Linked DNA regions of Homo sapiens: regions 2, 3 and 4 are each linked to region 1. Evidence: promoter capture Hi-C in human tissues and cell types (Jung and others, 2019). All regions are on one chromosome and are shown on one strand. Each heading gives the region's core, a stretch centred on a gene start or on the middle of the fragment in contact. The rest is flanking DNA. Distances are from core to core; before and after follow the strand shown. Region 1 holds the start of KLLN (killin, p53 regulated DNA replication inhibitor). Region 2 overlaps LIPJ (lipase family member J). Region 3 overlaps RNLS (renalase, FAD dependent amine oxidase). Region 4 overlaps RNLS (renalase, FAD dependent amine oxidase).

Region 1 (3,329 bases), core at 794-3,293:
CTGGTAAAATACAACTGACATTCTACACAAATCAGTAAAATTAACGATACCAAAAGGTGTCAGAGGACCTGAAACCTAAAAACGGTGAGCAGCAATTCTGGCATCACAACAATACTTAAATTTCAAGCATGAACTGAAGTTTTATTTCTGCAATCTTCACTTGCTACACACAATACCCTTGAACCTACACATTACCATCTGGGATCAGAAACTACTCAATATCCATTCTATGTTTATGACAAGAGCACTGAACATTAAATGCTACTGAAGTGCAAATTTCAAGCACTATCCTACATCACCCCATAGGGAGAGAAAAAGGTAAATATAACAAAGATCTAGTAAGAACGCCTTATAAGGTATATTATGGCACTATTGACTTCAAACTACAAAACTTCTACATACAGTTCAAAGTTGTAGGTAACTTAAGTTTAAACATTAACAAAACTACTTTTTGCCCTCAATGTGCACCATATATACTGAAAATGATTCTGCTTCTAAAGTTATGCAAATCAGTCATATTTTAAAAGAATCTATCAATGCAACTCAGGAAACTAAAACAATCACTGCAAGATTCTGATGCAATATGCGTACGTGCAACACTAATTTTCATTTTATTCTGATCTAAACCCTTGATCTAGGGCCTAAGCCAAGATTTAATCGAAATATGCTCAACCTCAAAAAGCGTCTACTTTTTTGTTCATTTAGGAGACCGGATTACCGAGCTCGCTAATCCACTAACAGTGTACTGTATTCTGTATTAACGGACAATAGCCCTCAGGAAGAGACCATATAGATAGCCTAAGAAAGCAATCGGTGGCTTGACACTTGCAACCAGGCAAGAGTTCCGTCTAGCCAAACACACCCTAGGTTGAATACACAGAAAGGAAACACAAAATATATGACCTAGCAACCTGACCAGGGTTAAATGTTATAGTCACCCAAACTACGGACATTTTCGCATCCGTCTACTCCCACGTTCTAAGAGAGTGACAGAAAGGTAAAGAGGAGCAGCCGCAGAAATGGATACAGGTCAAGTCTAAGTCGAATCCATCCTCTTGATATCTCCTTTTGTTTCTGCTAACGATCTCTTTGATGATGGCTGTCATGTCTGGGAGCCTGTGGCTGAAGAAAAAGGAGGAGAGAGATGGCAGAAGCTGCTGGTGGCGGGGCTTCTTCTGCAGGATGGAAATGGCTCTGGACTTGGCGGTAGCTGATGCCCCTCGCTCTGCCGCCGCTTGGCTCTGGACCGCAGCCGGGTAATGGCTGCTGCGGCGGCTGCTGGATGGTTGCAGCGACTGGGCCTGCTTCTCCTCAGCAGCCAGAGGCCTGGCAGCGGCGGCAGCGGAATGGGGAGAAGACGAATAATCCTCCGAACGGCTGCCTCCGCCGGCGGCCTCCGGAGCCCGGGCCACGGGGGGTGCGGCGGCGGCGCACGGGAGGTTTAAAACCGGCCCGGGTCCCTGGATGTGCCAGCCGCCGCCGCCGCCGTGTTGGAGGCAGTAGAAGGGGAGAGACCAACTCTCCGGCGTTCCCAGCCCTGGAAATGGTGACAGGCGACTCAGACCCCCTCCCTGGAGCTGCAGCCGCCGCGGCCGCCGCCGCCGCCGCTTCTCCCCCCCGCTCCAGGAGCGGGAGGTGCCGCCGCCGCCGCCGCGCCTCAGCCGGCTCCCGCCCGAGCCCACGGCTTCCACCTTCCCTTTCAGGAGAAGCCGAGGAAGAGGCTGCACGGTTAGAAAAGACGAAGAGGAGGCGAGAAACGCCGCCGCTGCCGCCGCCGCAGGCCGGCCGGCTCCCCGAGGGCGCTGCCCCCGCGGCTGCTCACAGGCGCTGAGAGGGGCTCCGGGCCGCGGCCGCCGCCGTCTCTCATCTCCCTCGCCTGAGCCCGGCCTCGCCTCACAGCGGCTCAACTCTCAAACTTCCATCATGGCTGCAGCTTCCGAGAGGAGAGAACTGAGCGCAGTCGCGTCCCAGCGCCGAGCGCGTATCCTGCCGCAGCGCATAAAGAGTCCCGCCACATCACCGCCCGCCGGCCTGCCCGCCCCCTCCGCCGCCGCGCCGGGAGCCCGGGCGCCTCGGAAGACCGAGGGGAGGCGGGAGGCGAGCGAGAGGCGGACGGGACCGCGCCGGGCGAGGGGAGGGCAGGGCAGGGCAGGGGGCGGTAGGAGGGGGCAGAGCGGTAGCTCTGGGTGCGAGCGCAGAGTCCCCAAGCCGCAGGCTCTACTGAGCATGCCCAGTGTAGCTGCCTGGGGCTTGCTCGGGCCGGTTCCCAGCCGCCAGCCTGCAGCTGCACTTGCTGCGGCTTTTGCAGCAACGCGAGGCGAGGATAACGAGCTAAGCCTCGGCCTCTGCCCAGAAACCCAGCCGGAGGCAGGGTAGGCTGTTGTGGGGCGGGGGTGGAGGACTGATGATGAAAGCTGAGATGGGTGCGTTGAGCAGTGTCACTGACTCGAGTCTGAGGTTACCTGTGCACAGGTGAAAAGGACCAGGTGACCACGCTGCTCAGTGTAGAGGGAAATGCAGGGACGGTCCCTGCAAGGGGAATACCCTCCCCCCTTGCCTCTACCCCTAGATTTCCGCGGCGTGGACTGCATTCGCTCTTTCCTTTTGCACCGCTGTCGGATCACAATCGTTCGCAGAGATTTGACTGTAACAGCCTTTGCCTAGAGATTCCCCCTTCCCCCAAATCTGTGTCCTCATGGTGTCAGTCTTAGCACAAAGAGCAACCTGCTATTGTGTCGCCAGCGTGTATCACCTCATCCGGCTCCCTTGCAGCGCCCCACCTCTCGCTTCCCCGGTAACTCGGCTCGTTTGCCCTAAAAATGAAAGCTCTCAGCCGAGCGTGCTGAACGTGAACACATAGCCGTTGAATTTCAAGGGCCCAAAGGGCACCTATCTAAATGAACTGAAAGAGGATCCCTGTGAGTGGGACGCACCCCGCAGGCCTCTCCTGCGCCCGCTCCGGTGCCCCCAAGAGAGTCGAGCATCTTTCCCCTCGGGCTCCAGGTCGGTTCGCGGCGTCGGAGTCAAGCTCGGTTCTCAGAGACCACCTAGCCCCGCCCCCCCTTGGCCGCCGTGAAAACCCGGCAGGATGGATCGCCCGGGGCCAGGCTCCGCGCGCCCCGGCCGGACCGTGCACGTTTGGGGTTACCGGGTTGAGTGGAAAGTACGGAACGGTAGGAAGCTGCAGCCCAGCGAGTGGGCGGGGCGAGGAGACCTAGGAGGGTTCAAAAGGAGGTGGAAGGATACACGGGCCACAGTCGGAACTACTTTCCGAAGGAGGTCACGTGTGTCCCTAGTTGGGGAACTTTCCAAATTCCCACTCCCCAGTG
Region 2 (3,329 bases), core at 445-2,944, 730 kb before region 1:
CACAAAAGTAGTCAAGAAATGTGAAATAAAAAGAATACCAGATAGGACAAACAAAAAGCATATAGCAGGATGATAGCCATAAATCTAATCTTAATAATTATATAAAAATAAATTTACTAAATACTGTAATTCAATTAAAAGGCAAAGATTGTCAAATGAAAATATTGTTAATACTATAACTGAAGACATAAAAGACAAGCTTTAAAATATCTTTGAGGAACAATAAGAACAAAAAAAACCATAAAAATTGACTCATCAGATTGAAGATGTGTATATATATATATGTGTGTGTGTGTGTGTGTGTGTATATATGTATGTATATATAAATGTATGTGTATATATATACATACATACACACTGTGGAATATTAATCAACCATAGAAAAGAAAAAATTCTGCCATTTGTGACAGCATACATGAACCTGGAGGGTACTAGTAAGTTAAATAAGCCAAATAGAGAAAGACAAGTACTGTATGGTATCACTCCTACGTAGAATCTTAAATAAATAAATAAATAAAAGAGTGAGCTCATAGAAACAGAGTAAAATGGTGGTTGCCAGGGTCTGGCAGGTGGGAAAAATGGGGACATGGTGGTCAAAGGGTATAAACTTTCAGTTATATAGTAAATACATTTTGAGGATTTAATGTACAGGATGGTGACTAGCTAATAATACTGTACTGTATACTTGAAATTTGTTAAGAGAATAGATCTTAAGCATTATCACCAAAAATATGACTATGTGAGGTGATAGATGTGTTAAACTTGATTGTGGCAATTATTTCACAATGTATTTATTTGTCAATTGTACCTCAATAAAAAGAGAGAAAATTTCTTTTGTTTCCATTGCCATTCAGGCTACTTGAAACTGTCAAAAATAAAGTTCTGACTGAACAATTTTAAATAGCCTGTACAGAAATTTTTAACAGAAACATTCTTCTCAGGTATTTATCATGTCCTCTATATATTAAATTAATATAATATATTATTATAATATAATATAATATTTTATATTATTGTAATAATATAATATATTATATTATTAAATACAATATAAAATATTATATTATTAAATATAATTAAATTATATAAATTTAAACTCAGGTATAAATTAAAACTCAGGTATTTATTATGTCCTCTAATTATAATTCTTCTCTGTATTTGAAATAAGCTCCAATATAATGCTTAGTTTTCTGGTACACTCCAGATATTCCTTCCATCATGGGTCACTACTGTTTACCTTAATGTAGGTCAGAGGCTTATACAACCCAAATCGCACTGTTCTGTTCATCCTTCTGGATGAAGAAGTGCACAGTAGCTTTCATAAACACCTGTCAGGCCTATCTGTGAGCAATATGAAATGTTTACCAGAGTCTCTACTTCACCTTTATCAGAAAGATAAGAAGGAATCCATTCCCTGAAAGGGACCTAAATAATAATCACACACCCTTGACAGCTGCACTCAGATATCTCAGCCTCATTTCCCCTCATAAGAGTTAGAATTTCTTTTTGTAAATCATCACCAAAAAATTGTAACACCTGGACAAGGTCAAAACTTTGGTTGTTTGATGATACATTTTCCAAGTCACATTGTGAGCATTTTTATCATCTGTTTTTTCTTGCATCATGACTTGCTTTCAGTTCTCATGACTTGCTTTCAATTCTCTGGTTGGTTTTCCACACCTGAGTGACATCAGTCAGATTCCACTCACTGCCTTTTCACAAACTACCAGATTCTCTTTTGGTTTTTCATACTGGCTCTAAGCAAATAATTTTAAGCCAGACCCTACTTCCTCCACAGATCTTGCTAGGCTCAAGAGACTGATTCAAGCTGAACCACAGTTTCACAATTAACTATTTCCAAACACACTGTGCGTGAAAATTTTCTACTTCCAACTTCCTACAATTTCAGCTAAATTAAGACACAGTCATATTACAATCTACAACACTGTCAACTTCTGTTGCAGAAGAAATGCCACAGTTTTGGAGGCTAGAAAACCAGAGTGTAAGCTTTTCTAATAATTTATACACAAAAAAGAGTTCTCAGAGACATCACATTATAATTACAAAAAAATATAGAATTGGCCAAATATACTACCTAAAACATAGAATGAGTGGATAAGTAAAAATAAACATTGTATTTATGATTCTTCCAGGCCCCTCATAGTAGGTGCTTAGCACTAGATGAACAGAAAAATATGAAAAAGAGGGAATATGAAAGTAATCCTTTCTGCCTTCTCATATCTTTATGGGTGGAAAAGACGAGAACTGAGTTTCTTATAGCATTCTAAAAATAAAGTAAGGTTGAACAAAATCAACAAAGTCAACAAACATGTCCTTGTGGCATAAAAATGTGTTTGGGAATTAAGAGAATACCTATCTTTCTTTGAATGTCTATATTGGCTCTCTTTGAGAAGCTCTTAAAAGGTCCAGGTACAAGAACCAACCTCTAGTCCAAATGGCACATTTGCTTCTGCCAAATCTGGATGTTTAATTTAATGTGATGAAAAACACTTAGAATGAATGCCTATATTCTTAAGAGAACCTATACACAATCAATCCAAAGGTTTTGGTAATAGTACCTTGAGTACCACAATAGTTTCCCACTCCAAGAGTATTGATAAAAGCTAGAAACTTAAAGATAATTGGAAGGCACTAATTCTAATTATGGAAGGATCAACAAGGATAGGAAGGAGTATTAGGAACCAGGAGGAGCAGTTATGGAGTTACAGGAAACAAATGAATAGAAGAGGACCTAAATCTTAGAAGTCTCAGGAAACTAATACCCAATAGCAAAGGTCAATAAAGATACCCATCACATCAGCTGCTCTCGAATATTTACAGACAGCAAGACAAATATGGAAGTAAAATAATCCCAGCATGTTCATGCAAGTTAGTTGTACAATGTTGGTGTAGTCATAAAATCAGATAGGCTAAGAATCTGACTACTAGTGTATGTGGATGAAACACAAAATGACACAAGGTATAACACAAGCACTATTATTATTATACTTTCCAAATATTGGAAAATATATATATTTCAAATACAACTTGTTCTTACCATATTTAAGTTTTTTGGGTCATATCCAAACATCATAAACAAGATATTGAGGCAAATCTTATCAAAAATCTGTAGTGGACACAGCTTTGAACCAATGAATTTTTTAAATGAGGTTTTAGGCAAGAAGTCTTTGTTGCCTGAAAAAGCCTGTAAAATAAATTTATTTTATCCACATTTGGATGACCACAATAAGTGCTAAAGAAATGTTGTGGTAATTCACTATCTATAAAACCAAATAAATTATCTCACAGTAGTTTGAAAATTTTAAATA
Region 3 (3,329 bases), core at 598-3,097, 620 kb before region 1:
TCCGTCTCAAAAAAAAGAAAAGTATGAATTTGACTGTAGTTTCCCATAAATCTTAGGGAAGGAGAAACTTGACTTATGATCTTATAAGAATCTCAGGAAACAATAAATTAGACTAAAGATTTCCCCTAAGGGGTAATTATCAGAGGTTTTCAACTTTGAAGAACCTCTCAAATTCAGCCTAAAGCTATGTCTAAGAACTTGTACTTAATTGATTACCTAGGTAAAGGAACGTGGAATATGCTTACTAGAGTTAAAGGTCCTGTATGAGGTGACATTTCTAAGATTGTCTCAAAGGTAGAAGTAAAATTTAAAATATGTTATTAAATAGGAAAATAGGCCTATGCAAATTAGATGAAGTTCTGGCAAGCCAAGTACAATGCAAAAACTCAGTAATTTAAGAATATGATAGACCAAGACTGAGTAAGTTTAAGTTTCACAGAAAGAGCTCAAACTAATAGGCAAACACTTGATGAATGTGAGCTTGTGCAGAGAACTAATACAATGCAAGAGTTTATTTAAAAAGAGTGTGACATACAAGTTTTAAGGAAGAATCTTTTTATTATGATCTTTTGGTAAATTTGTATTCATATGTTGCATCTGGATTTTTTTCTACTATACCTTTTAGAAAGTAGGAACTTAAAAAAAAAAAAAAAGAAAAAAAGAAAAGAAAGTCCAGAGAAGAATGGCTGATATGAAAAAGTCATGAATGGAAAATAGGTCCTTCAAAAGGGCAAATAAAAGGAATTTGGGTTACTTTTCTGAAAATGGGAAAGGCTAAGAGATGGCAGCATAATTTTTAAAACTAGGCTAAGAATCAACAGCTGTTATTTCTAGTTCAAGGTCGTCTTTGCTTAGACAAATCCAATGATGATGATGATGATGATGATACTGATATTTCTAAAATTGACACTAATATTTATAGAGGACTAATGCTTACCATTTACATGGGTTGTCTTATTTAACTTCATAATCATATTATGTGGTGAATACTTAAATTAGCTCCATTTTTCAGAATAGAAAACTGTATATAATTTTCCTCAGATGAAAACAGTGCTATTAAAATGTGTCCTACTTACTGCTTCAGGTGGAAACATGAAAATGATTTGCAACACTCTAGCTGCCAAGGTTTATTTGTCTTCCTAAAATTATAGGAATTCTATGTAACGATGCTTCATGATCCAAGTAAGGGAATATTGGCCTCAAAGCAAAGCCATTGACTTTTCGCTCTGATATAATTAAAGGCAACAAGAGGTTGTTGAATACCTGTTATATGCTTAATATGTTTTCAGATGCCATGCTAGGATATACAAAGAAGAAACAAGACTGAAACATATTTAATGTTCTATAATAGTTTTAGCAAATGATTGTTGATCACTATATGTTCATTTAGTCTTCACAACAACCCTATGAAGTAGCTACTATCATCCTCATCTTACAGATGAAGAAATAGTACCTAGTTAATGACAGAACTAGGATTCAAACCCAGGTACTTGGGCTCCTCAGCATGGCTTGAGAGACAGACAGAAAGAGAGAGAGAGAGAAAGAAAGAAAGAGAAAGAAAGAAAGAAAGAGAAAGAAAGAAATGAAAGAAAGAAGGAAAAAGAAAAAAAGGTAAATTAGTTAAGGCTATGTGAAGTCAGGAAAAGGGAAAAGTCATTTTGAACCAGTTTGAACAAGTAGCTTCAGTATCCTTAAAGTGATGGGTTTGTGTGCCAGAAAATGGTACAGAGTATATTATAAGTTGTATGGGAATGAGCAGAGCATATTTCGAGTGAACGGAAGCTGGAAAGGGCAGTTGAGGATGGATAAGCCCTGTGTCTTGTGGGTTTATTTTTTATCTGGGGGGACAGTGGAGAGACTTCAAGTATACCAACCTGCCCAGGCATGCTTTGATGACTAGAGGTATATGTGGGATAAGGTAGGGCCACATATAAAGGGATCTTTAATAACAGAGTGAGGTATTTGAACTTGAGATGATAGGTAGTGAGGGATCATGTGTCATAATGAAACCCAGCCATCTGGTTAAAATTAGCAATTGGCCCTGAGGTGATAAAATACTGGCAAGCTAGGAGTGGGCCTAAAAATGAAATGATGAATCTGACAGAAATGTTGAAGACATATTACCAAATATCAGATACTAACTGGATAGAAGGAATAAGAGAAAGTGGGGAGTCAGATGGGCTCGCGTTTTCAAGCCTAAGAAACTTGGGAGATTAGAATAACTGGCACCAAGAAACTGGGACAAGGAATGCATTTAGGTAGGAGAAAGTAAATGTTTTTTAAATGTTTGAAAGATAACATGAGAGCCATTTTGGAATGGATTTTAAAGTCCTTGTTGATAGTTGACTTCAATCCACAGTAGGTCCTGAGACAGCTAATCTTAAGTTTTAATAATTCTTTACTTTTAAGAAGTTACCAGATAAAAATCTATCCAGGATAAATGTTAATCTATCTGAAATAGGCACTGGGCCATATGGCCTCATAAGATTCCATGCATGATTGCATTCAACAGACACATACTGTGAACCTCCAGCTAGTATTGCATAGTAGTTGGTGTCATAGCTTAGTAATGAACAGTGTGTCCTCTAGAGTCAGGCAGAACTTGGGCCATATCAGCTCCTGCTCTGGACAGCTGTGTGAACTTGGCAAAATACTTACCCTCTATCATTCTGAAGCTTCTTAGATGTGAAACAAAGATCATGATAGCACCCACCTCATAGGAAGGTCATGGAAATTAAGGGGGATGATGCATGTGAAGCCTTTAGCCTAGTGTCAAGCACACAGAAGATGATCAGTGTTATCTGTCACATACCACTGTTATTGTCTTCCACAGTCTTCAAATTTCTGTCATCCCTGTCATCACTATCATCCTTGTCATCGTTGCCATCCTTGTTTCACCATCATCCCTGTCTTCACCATCATCACAATTGTCAGTGTTTACATCAGCGTTGCTGTTGTCACCATCATCCTCTTCCCCATTGTCATCCCCACCATCGCTGTCATCCCCATCATCATTATCTCTGTCTTCACCATCTTTCTCTCCTTCCCTGTCATCCCGGTCATCACCATCATAACTGACATCCCATTGTCACCTTCATCCCTAACTTCACCATCATCCTTATCATCTTGCTCATACCATCAAGGCACCTGCTTTGTTGTTCCTTCGTCAGTTTTTCTGTGAGCAAGTCCTGAATATCAGCACTTTGCACTTTCTCCATAGGGCAGATGTACACATGGAACAGTCTTTGAATGGTTATTGTTAGCTTAGTCACACTGTACCATTTTCCAGTTCTTGTTCTAATAATAGATAGTATCTATTATTTAATGAT
Region 4 (3,329 bases), core at 305-2,804, 590 kb before region 1:
GCATGGGGAGACATTGCATGGAAATAACCATTCCTAATTTGCTTAGTTGAAACAGAAAACAGGAGAGTCTGCTGGCAGTAAGACAAAATTATTTTCTTTCCAAATCTTAAGAATTTGGCTTAGGACTGGGTTTTGTCAAAGAATGTTCTTGCTGACATCTCATCCAGCTTCTTCCATCCCTTGAGCCCATCAGTTAAAACTGTTCGATGCTCACTGGAGCTAAGTCCTCTTGGGAGGCTTTTAATGGAGGTAGATTACTATTCATTTTAAAACAAAAAGATCAAATGATGAGTGGGCATGCATTGGGATAAAGCGATTTTTGTTTTGTTTTGTTTTGTTTTGTGGGAAATAACCAAGTCACTGGGAGTTTTTTCTAACAGAAATGTAAATACTGTGTTGACTATCTGTTCCCAGTTTTTTCTCATGAGGAAAAAGAGAAAAGGGAGGATTTAAAATTAATTACAGGCCAGGCGTGGTGGCTCACGCCTGTAATTCCAGCACTTTCGGAGGTCGAGGCAGGCGGATCACGAGATCAAGAGATCAAGACCATCCTGGCTAACACGGTGAAACCCTGTCTCTACTAAAAATACAAAAAATTAGCTGGGTGTGGTGATGGGTGCCTGTAGTCCCAGCTACTCGGGAGGCTGAGGCAGGAGAATGGCGTGAACCCGGGAGGTGGAGCTTGCAGTGAGCCGAAATCGCACCACTGCACTCCAGCCTGGGCAACAGAGCAAGACTCTGTCTCAAAACAAAACAAAAAAATTAATTATAAGGCCATGTAGTTAGAGGTAATTACAGGAAGAATTCCTTGCTTGCATGGGTTTTTAAATATCTGAACTAGTTGCCCTAGTAGGTTTGGAACGTTTATTTCTATAAATTTTCTAGAAAGCAATTGATTTTTTTTTCCCTTTACTTTGATTGTCCATCATTCCAATCAACCTGCAAGAGATACATCCACACCTGTAGCCATCCTGGTTATACCTTCTTCCTAAGGCTGGCTGAATTGCCCACTTCTCTGTGGCTCCATAGTACTTAGTACATACTACTCTCACAGTGCCTTTGAAATTATATGGCAGTTTGTGTGCTTCTCTAGCTACTAGTCTGTGAACTTCTTGAGAACAGAACATATGTTGTTTATTTTTATGCTTGTTTTTATTCTTTCAATCTTGTTTCTCAGTTCCTAGTATATCTGTTATCTGCCTGACAGATAACAGTATTCAATAAATAGCTGTTGAATTGAATAAAAATGAGTATTTATATAGATCAAATAGTTCCAATTCAGGAAATATGTCCAGACTTGCTTAACTAACTCTTAGGGGAATAGGCAGGAATCATCTATTCTCCTTGCTTCTGTGTTATCTACCAGACCTCCATACACCCCTACGTTTATCCCCACACTTTGGAACAAGTTCTACTTCTTGCCTCTTTGGTCACAGGGGAAAGATGTCTGATAAATCTACCCAGATTGAGTTGTAATTGACTTTAATATGTTTCCCCTGAGTGACTTAAGCACCTCTGGTTTATTTGAGCTCTGGGTAATTGTTGGTTAGGCTTTATAACTTTCAGTAAGGAGTTGACCTTGTTGGAGGTTTGAAGGTCATAATCATTTACCTGCCATTTATAAATTCTAACAGATACAAAGAGCCAAGTGGATATCACAGCATTATTAATGGAACCCTGTGGACTCCTAAAGAACAAAGCCCCTGCTAAAATGGGATGTGAGAACATGGCTTAAACAGGAAGCTGAAGTCCATGCTTCCTCTGACTTCTCCAGACATGGATACAGCAACTACCTAAGGGAAAAGGTGGATCTACATACAAAATTGATCCTGTATATTTCCTCCCACAATGCCATCAAAATATGGCTGGAAAATGGCACCAAGGCCTCCTAATTATCAAATCTGATAGTCATTTGTTTTATTTGATACTCAATTTGTTATTTGACTCTGTTGAATACATCTTTCTTGAATTTCTTTCTACCCTAGGCTTCCAGGATTATCTCTTCTCTCACCAACCATTCTTTCATGGACTCTTTCTTCTCTTTTCAGCCCATAAGTGTTGGTATTTCTCAGGGTTCTGTGATAAGCTATCTTCTCTTCTAATTCTACCCATAATCCATCAGGAATCTCATCCACTCCCATAGTTTCTAGTCTGTATTCCAATAACTCTGTGAAATTGATATTGCCAACCAGATCACTATTCATATTCTAGATCAATATGTTCTTGTTTGTTTTTAATTCCACAAATATTCAACAAGTTACTGTGTCATAGTAAACAGTGAGAATACAAAGAGTCTCTGCTGTTAAAAAACAGGTAATATAAACAGAGTGCAGTGGTAATACTCAAGAATATTTTGAAAGCACTAAATAAGAAAACTCAGATCAAACCAGGAAATTTAGAGGAAGAACTTAGAAAGAAAGGATGTCATCAGTGATTCTAAAATGCTAGTTAACAGCTTTGTTACGAGAGTAGAAGGAGTAATACCAGCAGAGAACACATAAATAAGGAGCAAATTTCTCCACATGAATGATCTGCAGATACTCAGAAATAGCATGTTTGTCACAGGTTAGGTTTCCCAGAAAGCAGGCTCTGGACAAGATTTGCATGCAGGAAGAGGGGATGCTCTTGGCTGGATACCTATGGGAGAATGAAAGAAACTGGATTGGGCTGAAGGGAGCTTGAACTGCCATTCAATCACAACAAAGTCTCTGATGATCCCAGTGAGACCTTTGCAGCTGCAATAACTCCTTAAAGTTCCCTAAATGGGAAGCAAAGGGACAGGCCTTTAGACCCTTCTATCACCCAGTCATTGGATGTGGGCTACCGCCGGGAAGGAGCATGACTTTGGGTAAGGCGGTTTTCTTGAGCTGAACATATGACCCTTAGAGGGAATGTCACTAAGAGCTGTTGGTTTCTAAAACTTCCTGCAGCTGGAGGTGTAAGTACTATAGTTTTGGAGGTAGAAATTTAGGCAGTATTCCATGGTATCCACTACGGTGTACTCCTTGCAACCATTCATACCCGCTTGCTTCTTATAATAAGTTCTAGGCCTTCAGGTGGATTAGTGAGATGAGCTACAGCTCCTGCCACTGCAGCTGGTCTCATGGCCTTAACAAATACTCATTATCCTTCTCCTCCACTATCCAACCATTCAGAATTCCCCTCACCATCAACTAGCACCTCTGCCTGTTTAGGTGGCTTACATATGGGATGATCTGGACATGGTTTTGAGCCCCATGATCACCACATTCTTTTCAGACCATAACACTGAACTTGTATTTTTATCATCAAAATTGAGCAAGAGAGTACCAAGAGACACCGAATTACTT

The links. Contacts are between HindIII fragments. The study calls those that stand out against the background at their distance.
Region 2: a contact is called between a fragment that was not itself captured here and the fragment with the promoter of KLLN in region 1, in 1 of the 25 tissues and cell types used here (lymphoblastoid cells).
Region 3: a contact is called between a fragment that was not itself captured here and the fragment with the promoter of KLLN in region 1, in 1 of the 25 tissues and cell types used here (lymphoblastoid cells).
Region 4: a contact is called between a fragment that was not itself captured here and the fragment with the promoter of KLLN in region 1, in 1 of the 25 tissues and cell types used here (mesenchymal stem cells).

What each region holds. Positions count from the first base shown.
Region 1 is chr10:87,862,247-87,865,575 of GRCh38, reverse strand. KLLN (killin, p53 regulated DNA replication inhibitor) reads left to right here and starts at 2,043. Exons shown (of 1, transcript NM_001126049.2): 1 at 2,043-3,329. The coding sequence starts at 3,089. MLDHR (mitochondrial lactate dehydrogenase regulator) reads right to left here and starts at 2,017. Exons shown (of 1, transcript NM_001433720.1): 1 at 1,922-2,017. The coding sequence starts at 2,017. The coding sequence ends at 1,922. It overlaps PTEN (phosphatase and tensin homolog), which reads right to left and starts at 1,951. Exons shown (of 9, transcript NM_000314.8): 1 at 1,028-1,951. The coding sequence starts at 1,106. RefSeq lists silencers at 1,657-1,796, 1,887-2,196 and enhancers at 2,797-2,976, 3,227-3,316. The HindIII fragment of the contact is 9,209 bases long and covers 1-3,329 here.
Region 2 is chr10:88,596,666-88,599,994 of GRCh38, reverse strand. LIPJ (lipase family member J) reads right to left here. Exons shown (of 11, transcript NM_001010939.3): 8 at 3,059-3,205. Among named protein-coding and RNA genes, the nearest start is that of LIPJ, 12 kb to the right of the region's middle. RefSeq lists an enhancer at 1,498-1,637. The HindIII fragment of the contact is 3,756 bases long and covers 1-3,329 here.
Region 3 is chr10:88,477,118-88,480,446 of GRCh38, reverse strand. All of the region lies in intron 4 of RNLS (renalase, FAD dependent amine oxidase), which reads left to right. Among named protein-coding and RNA genes, the nearest start is that of RNLS, 100 kb to the left of the region's middle. The HindIII fragment of the contact is 3,732 bases long and covers 1-3,329 here.
Region 4 is chr10:88,452,841-88,456,169 of GRCh38, reverse strand. The region is part of intron 4 of RNLS (renalase, FAD dependent amine oxidase); the gene reads left to right. Among named protein-coding and RNA genes, the nearest start is that of RNLS, 130 kb to the left of the region's middle. The HindIII fragment of the contact is 6,199 bases long and covers 1-3,329 here.